Linked DNA regions of Homo sapiens: all the other regions are linked to region 3. Evidence: promoter capture Hi-C in human tissues and cell types (Jung and others, 2019). All regions are on one chromosome and are shown on one strand. Each heading gives the region's core, a stretch centred on a gene start or on the middle of the fragment in contact. The rest is flanking DNA. Distances are from core to core; before and after follow the strand shown.

What was found. Contacts are between HindIII fragments. The study calls those that stand out against the background at their distance.
Region 1: a contact is called between a fragment that was not itself captured here and the fragment with the promoter of SYT4 in region 3, in 4 of the 25 tissues and cell types used here (dorsolateral prefrontal cortex, hippocampus, lymphoblastoid cells and 1 more).
Region 2: a contact is called between a fragment that was not itself captured here and the fragment with the promoter of SYT4 in region 3, in 3 of the 25 tissues and cell types used here (dorsolateral prefrontal cortex, mesenchymal stem cells and spleen).

What each region holds. Positions count from the first base shown.
Region 1 is chr18:42,141,015-42,143,714 of GRCh38, reverse strand. No RefSeq gene overlaps it. Among named protein-coding and RNA genes, the nearest start is that of LINC00907, 44 kb to the left of the region's middle. The HindIII fragment of the contact is 9,153 bases long and covers 1-2,700 here.
Region 2 is chr18:42,094,455-42,097,154 of GRCh38, reverse strand. No RefSeq gene overlaps it. Among named protein-coding and RNA genes, the nearest start is that of LINC00907, 91 kb to the left of the region's middle. The HindIII fragment of the contact is 6,150 bases long and covers 1-2,700 here.
Region 3 is chr18:43,276,062-43,278,761 of GRCh38, reverse strand. SYT4 (synaptotagmin 4) reads left to right here and starts at 1,272. Exons shown (of 4, transcript NM_020783.4): 1 at 1,272-1,514. The coding sequence starts at 1,481. The HindIII fragment of the contact is 4,332 bases long and covers 1-2,700 here.

The DNA of each region.
Region 1 (2,700 bases), core at 22-2,521, 1.1 Mb after region 3:
CCATTTACATTCATAGTTAATATTGATATATTAGGTTTTGATCCTATTGTGAAGTTGTTAGCTGGTTGCTTTTTATTTTCTATTGTGTGGTTGCTTTATAAGGTCTGTGGGCTATGCATTTAAGGGTGTTTTTGTGGTAGCAGGTATCATTCTTTCACTTCTATTTTTAGAACTCCCTAAAGGATCTCATGTAAGGTTGATCTAGTGGTAATGAATTCCATTAGCACTTGCTTGTCTGCATGAACTTTTATTTCTCCTTTGCTTATGAATCCTAGTTTGGCAGGGTATGAAATACTTGTTTGGAGTTTCTTTAAGAATGCTGAAAATGGACCCCAATCTCTCCTGGCTTCTAAGGTTTCTTTTGAGAAATCCACTGTTAGCCTGATGAGGTTCCCTTTGTAAGTGGTCCAACCTTTTTCTCTAGCTGTCTTTAAGATTTTTTTCTTTAATGTTGACTTTGGACAGTCTGATGACTATATGCCTCGATGATGCTCATTTTGTATGGTATCTCACATATTTACTCTGGATTTCTTATATCTGGGTATTTACCTCTCTAGCAAGATTAGGGAAATTTTCTTGAATTATTCCTTCAAATATGTTCTTCAGATTGTTTCCCTTTTCTCCATTTCTCTCAGGAATGTCAATAATTTATATGTTTGGTCACTTTACATGATCCTATATTTCTCAAAGACTTTATTTTTTTAAATTCTTTTTCCTTTATTTTTGTCTGTCTGGGTTAGTTCAAAAGACTGGTCTTCAAGTTCTCAAATTCTTTCTTCTTCTTTGTCCAGTCTATTAATAAAGCTTTCAATTCTATTTTAAAATTCCCTGAATTTTTCAATTCCAGAAGCTCTGTTTAAGTTTTTTGAAGATGTTTATCTCTTCATTTCCTGGAGTGCTTTAGAAGTTTCTTTGTGTTGATTTTCAACCTTGTTGTTGATCTCATTGAGCTTCCTTGCAATCCATTCTTTGCATTCTTTATCTGTTATGTCCGAGTTTCTGTTTTGGTTATGTATTATTGCTGGAGAACTAGCGTGATCCTTCAGGGTTGTCACTACATTAAGATTTTTCATAGTTCCAGAATTTTTGTGCTAGCTCCTCATCTGGAGATGCTGGCATTTCTAAGTTTTGTAATTATTTTTGTCTAGGTAGGACTTTTTCCTTTTTCTTTCTTTCCCTATAATATTATTTTTTCTTATTTCCTTTTCCCATTCCCCCCTCCCCACCAGAGGATACGACTTTAGAGCAAGGATCCCTAGCCCCTGGCCCGAAGACTGGTCCTTGTCCATGGTCCATTAGGAACCAGGGGGCACAGCAGGAAGTGAGCTGCTGGGGAGCAAGCATTACTGCCTGAGCTCCACCCCCTGCAGATCAGCAGTGGCATTAGATTCTTTTTTTTTTTTTTTTTTTTGAGACGGAGTCTCGCTCTGTAGCCCAGGCTGGAGTGCAGTGGCGCAATCTCGGCTCACTGCAAGCTGTGCCTCCCAAGTTCACAGGTTCACGCCATTCTCATGCCGCAGCCTCCCGAGTAGCTGGGACTACAGGCACCCGCCACCACGCCTGGTTAATTTTTTGTATTTTTAGCAGAGATGGGGTTTCACCATGTTAGCCAGGATGGTCTCGATTTCCTTACCTTGTGATCCGCCCGCCTCGACCTCCCAAAGTCCCAAAGTGCTGGGGTTACAGGTGTGAGCCACCGCGCCTGGCTGGCATTAGATTCTCATAGGAGCACAAACCCTATTGTGAACTGTACACGCGAGGGATTTAGGCTGTGCACTCCTTATGAGAATCTAACTAATGCCAGATGATCTGAGGTAGAACAGTTTTACCCTGAAACCATCTCCCCTCCCCTGCCACCATCCTTAGAAAAATTTTTCTTCCACAAAACTGGTCCCTGGTGCCAAAAAGGGTGGGGACTGCTGCATTAGAGAATGCTGGGTGGGTGGGTCTTTTGGCTTCTCTTCTATAGCCCTATGAATGTCAGCAGGTTTATATTGGGCTGTGCAGTTGGACCTACAAGCCAGAAGATGGAGCTTGTGGGTAAGAGTCAAGTGTTGCCAAAGCAGCTGGGTATTTACTTAATCCTTGTTTACTGGCAGAAGCTCTCGTTATCTCAGGGAATGGGCTGATTCATGAGGTGCACTGTGGTCAGAGCTCCCTCTTCAGCCCTAGAGGGGTAGGGGACAAGATGGTCAAGGCTGGACTGGACAGGTCTATCTGCCAGTCCACCAATGGCAGGCACAAGCACCAGCACCAAGGGAGAATCCAGCAGGTAGCCACCAAGTGCCCAGAGGTGTGCTTAGATGTGAAGCTGAGAGGCCTCCTTGGCCCCAAGTTCTCTGCACAGGAATCGAGGACAGCCTAAACTTCTGATCCAGGAAAGTAGGTACTCTAAGTGCTTGAAAATCTGCTGTGCATGGAGTGGAGAGGGCTTCCTCCCCCAGCCCCACACCGGGATCTCTGCAAATAAAACGTGGCCTGCTCAGGCTGCTGTTTTAGGTGACCAGTGCTCCAAATGCCTGGAGATCTGCCTGGGCATGGAGTGGAAAGGGCTCCCCTGTTCCAAGATCTCTGCACAGTATGGGTGGGGTGACTTTGGCTGCTGAACCAGGCAAGCAGGTGTTCTGAATGCCTGGGGCTCTCCCTGGGTATAAAGCAGAGAGGGTCCTCTTGTACCAGGATCTCTGCAAAGGAAGGGTG
Region 2 (2,700 bases), core at 128-2,627, 1.2 Mb after region 3:
TGACTATCCAGTTGTTTCTGTACCATTTGTTGAAAAGGCTATTGTTTCCTTCGTTGAATTGTTTTAGCACCCATTTCAAAAGTCAATTGACCATAAGTTAATGGTTTATTTGTAGATTCTTAAATTTATTCTATTAATCTGTGTGTCTATCCTTAAGCCAGTGCCACACCATCTTGACTACTGTAGCTTTGTAGTAAGTTTATCAGGGAGTTTGAATTCTCTAATTTTTTTTCAATATTCTTTTGGGTATTCTTCATCACTTGCATCTCTCACTTTTTATGTTCTAAATACCATCTACTAACAGATAACTCTCAAAATTATACCTCTCAAATTTCTTTTCTGAAGCTGTGACTCTTATTGAAGCTATGTTTTTAATTGGCAGCCCAGGTAAAATATCTCAGAGCTATCTCAAAGTGTATAAGCTAACTGAAAATTCACCTCTATATCTCCCCCTAAAATATTCAACTTTTCTTCTGTCTTCCTAATCACTGCAAGTGCCCCCAAAATTCACTCTATTGCTCACACCAGGATGCTGAGAGTCAATCTTCATTCCTCCCTCTTCTTCTCTCCCATAGTCAATCCATCAGCAAGTCCTATCCAATTTTTCTCCAAATCATGCTTCAAATTCATTTCCTTTCTCCCTATATCTACTTTTACCACCCTAATCCAAGCCACCAGAATTTTCTCCTAGATTACTAATTAGTCTTCCTGATTTTTCCCCAAAGGTCCATTTTCTATGAAAGAAACAAAGTGATAATTTAATAAGTTAAACCTAATCATTTGGTTCACTGATTTCCTTTGCACTTAAATAAAATTCCAACTTTTCCCATGGTTTATAAGCCCATGTATGATTTGATTCCACCTACCTCTCCAGGCTCCTTTTTTAATGTTTCACCTTTATTACCAGGTTCCAGACATACTAGCTTTCTTTCAGGTTATTGCACAAAGCAAGCTTTTTCATGGCTTAAGACCTTTGCACATGCTGCTCCCTGTAATTAAAATGCCCCTCCTGCTCCCTTTACCCCTCAACCTTTCATGCATGGTTCCTTTCATCATCTATTCTTGGCTTAAAGTATTATCTCCTCAGATGACTTTTTTTGGTGATTATATCTAAACTAGATTTTCCTCTTGTATTCTCTTTAACCACACACAGTTGCTTCTTTCAAAGCACTTACTACATTTTATAACTATTAAATTGCTTGTATGATTGCTTCCTGTCTGTCTCTCCAACTGTTGCCTTACTAGGTTGTAAAATCCATGCAGGTAGGAAACATGTCTGTTCCTTTCACAACTGTACCCCCAATGCTAAACATACAATAAAGATTCAATAAATTATTACTTGAATAAATAACTTTTTTACCCATCTTCAAAAAATTAATAATGCAGAATAGTTACATAATGCTGTGTAGGCCAGACACTGTTACAAGCCCTGTAAATTGAGTTATTTATTTAAAAGATACAACAACTTCAAAAGGTAAATTCTATTATTATATGCTTTTTTTTTTTTGTATGAGGAAATTGAGGTGCAGGGAAGATAAGCAACTTCCTCAGTGTTACTCAGGTAAGATATAAGCAAACATAGATTTAGAACTGAGGTGCTCTGGGTTTGACACCTATGTTCATGACACTAGGCTACACCGATATATACCAGAAAGTAATAATTCCTGTAGAAAAGGAGGGTGGGGACTTTTGGTCTGACTTAGGGAAGCTGGCATTCTCTTCTAGGTCCTGTCTCTGCATGCAGATCTTGGGGGAGAGGATGGAGCAAGTTACATGAGGATCCTAGAGAACTTTTTGTTTTTTTATAAAGCCATTTATTTCAACTCTTTCTAAGATTCAGAGATAAAGGAGTCTTATGGTATAGGAGTAGGTGCCTCTCAAAAGCCCAGTGATGTGGAAGACATCAAGGATCCCCAAATAAAATATTGTTGAGTGAATCAGAAGTCTAGGATGATAACCTAAGGTCAATACCAGGTGGGTAGTTGAAGTTGTCACCTCTTTCAGGTGTAGGTGCTGGTCCTAGGAGAAAATGACTAAGCCCAGAGGTATGTGAAATTAAAAGTGTGGCCAGATGGTAGCCTCATCAGGGCATTGCTATGCACTGGATGGACCTTAACCTTCATACTATCACCTCTGCCCCCACAGCTCACACATAAGCATGCTGAGTTCAGGGTGTGCATAGGGTTTCTTGACTTTTTGTGTTCTATGTCTAAACAAGTTCTTGTTCAAATGGAAAATGTGGCCTCTTGAGAATGTCAGTGTCCCCACTTATTCCATTGTAGATGTAAACGGTACCTTTTTTTCTCTCTTTCTCATTGAACCACATGCATATAAGCCCACCAGAATTCTGTGTTCATGTGGCAAATGGATTGTCAAAGAGTGGTGGTAGACACATACATGGTGGCATATCCTCTGCTGGTACACGTGCTCCATTGTCCCATCAGTCTTCACTTACACAATATCGATTCAAAGATCAAATTAATTATTAAAGCTTTTAAGACAGCAACATCATTGCATTAAACTAAACACAGGGCCCATCAGAATGTGAGGTCTTGTGCAGCTTCACAGATAGCATGCCCATGAAGCTAGTCCTGGTCATTAGTGTATGAATGGCATCTAATGCCACAGGATTGGATGAGATCACTGTGAGAGTACAGAGAGAAAACAGAGTCCCAGGAACAAGAACCCTGGTGGTCTAAA
Region 3 (2,700 bases), core at 23-2,522:
GCATGAAGATATAAAGTTTAAAAAAATCTGTTAGAGGAACACTCCAATGCCAAGTATGTGGGAGCAAATAGAATAGCAAAGAAAAAAGACTGGTTTATAAAATTTTCCATGATGCAAAGAACTGAAGCCAATTTCTCCCCAGACAGAGCCCTGATGCTCTGGGCTGCTGCTAGCCAATGTGCAGGGACCTGTCACTTGCACAGTAGCTTTCTGAGACTCACCCTGTATCCCTTCTCCCACATCCCAGCACACACTGAATGCCATTTCCTTATTAACTCCAGAGCAAAGAAATTCTTTGCAGAGCAATAATTGACAGTTGGAGTTACAGCTTGACTTCTTTCCTTTGAAAAATTGCTAAGCATTTGTTTTAGAAAGGCACACTCTTCAGATTCCAATGAATCAGAATCCGACACCATATTTTTCACAGTTTTTCACCTCCGAGAATATCATCAGTTTAGAAAAAGGAATGCTTTCCTTTGAAATAACCAATGTTACCAATGTTACTTTAGATGTTGGCCTGATTTTGGAAACTATTTTGTACAAACGTACTAGAAGTCAGGCCTTTTAACCATAAATGTCATTTCAGAAGCGCCTTATTATTTGCAAAAGTCATAACTGAGAGTGACTCTGAATATCCAAGGAATTATCCCCATCTGTTCCTAAGTGCTTTAACTGGTCAAATGTCAGATATTAAAGGGAAGAGAGCTGAGAGACCAGGAAAGATCAACTGTTCCAGCAAAATATTTAGACTAATAATTTATTAGAACATAAAGGATTATACTGGGAAAACTATCTTATATCAAATGCATCAATTTGTAGTGAATCTTTTCTAAATGTAATAAGTATCATAGGTATAACATGTCAAAGAAAAAAATTAAAAAGCAAGAAAACATGTTTTTGCATGTTAAAAAGAGTAATTTGAAGCAGAAACTTCTCCTCTGTAAGTTACGTTATTCTGAAAACTCAGAAACATATTTTTATTCATCTAGGTGATCAGGAGATTTTATATTAGGAACTGACAGGGATCAGTTTCGGGGCTTATCTCGGTGAGCCTCTGAGCCCCCACAAAACAGCAAAGCTAATCTCTAGTGGTCCAACAGTTAAAATAATTGATGAGCATGTGTTGAATCCTCAAGAGAGGAGGGAGGAAGCAAGAAGGAAAGCTTGAAGGGAGGAGGGGAGGGGGGCAGGTGCTGATTTCAGCCCTGTAGCGTCAGGATTGCGTCAATTCGGGTTCCAGCCACGTCTGGAGTCTCGGAGACGAGCTTCTCAGAAGAGCCAAAACAGGAACCGAGGTGGCAAATCACTGTGCGAGGGCGAGTGGACCTCCCTCTTTGCCTCCTCCCTGTTCCAGGAGCTGGTGCCCTGGGCTCTGCGCTGTTGTTTTCAGCGCTCCGAAAGCCGGCGCTTGAGATCCAGGCAAGTGAATCCAGCCAGGCAGTTTTCCCTTCAGCACCTCGGACAGAACACGCAGTAAAAAATGGCTCCGATCACCACCAGCCGGGAAGAATTTGGTAAGCAAGTTACTGAACTTATGACTGCGGTTATTCCTTGAATACTCTGGGGTGGACTGTTTATTCATTTATTTTTTGCCCGGTTGTTGAATACAGATTTCCTAGGTAGTTAATTTAAAAGGAAAATGAGAATGGCAGTCAGGCAATTGTGGCTTATTTCTGCAGCTTCTCTCCCTTCCTTGGTATCTCTCTCCCTGAAACTGTCTTCTGTTAGGGAGAATTTACCTTCAGGAAGTTCTTAAATTTTCAGGTACTTCTGTAAATTGCAGCATGTACTGAGTAAAGAAAAAGGGGTCTGTTTTTCCCATGTTGGTTTCATCTATTTTGTAGGTGATTCTTATTTGTAGGTAAATCTATATTTTATTAGGAGAAGATAAATATATCTCTGGTTACATTGGGGTTTGATCTTGGTTAAAAAAAGCAACTTGTCTATTGGGGTTTGGCAATGTATATTTTATTACAGGGCGTACCATATGGGTGTTTTTCTCTGCTATGTTTTTCTTGTATCCTTGAAATATGTTGCTAGTGAAAGACAGAATCATATGGTAGCAGGGTTAAAGAGAGTTTCAAAATGAACTGGCTCAGCCCATTTCATTTCACTGCTGAGCTAACCAAAGCCCAGAGAGATGAGGGAAGTATTATAGGTTGCACAATTAGCTAAAAGCTGCTGGAAACTTGAATTAGGGCTCCAATTTTCCCGTTCAGTTTTCCTTTTCTCACACCAAGTTTTTGGTTTCAGTACATAAAATTAGACGTACTTCATAGAGTAAAAAAGTACTATTTTTAGATCTCAGTATATTCCAAAGGAAAAAGGTCAGAATTTTACTTACACGTATTTTTTAAATCATGAAATTTCATAGAAGGTTGTGAAGAGGAGTGATATCTACAGATGTGTGATAATTGTTATTAAGCTGAGTAAAATAACTATGATCTTGACTTTCAAGATTGTAAGACCTTATCAGTAGAGAATACATAGGGAGTAGATAAGTGTTTCCACGTTATAGAAAATGTTTGCCATTTGACATAACTATTCAATAGGGACAATTTGTGATATTATGTTCATAAATGAATTTCTTTCCCAGCCTTCCATTTGGGTTATTGGGTTTATTTTGGTATGACATTTATTCCCAATTCTTCATTTGAAACCTGAATGATTTTCTAATATGGAGGAATTTTTAGAGACTGT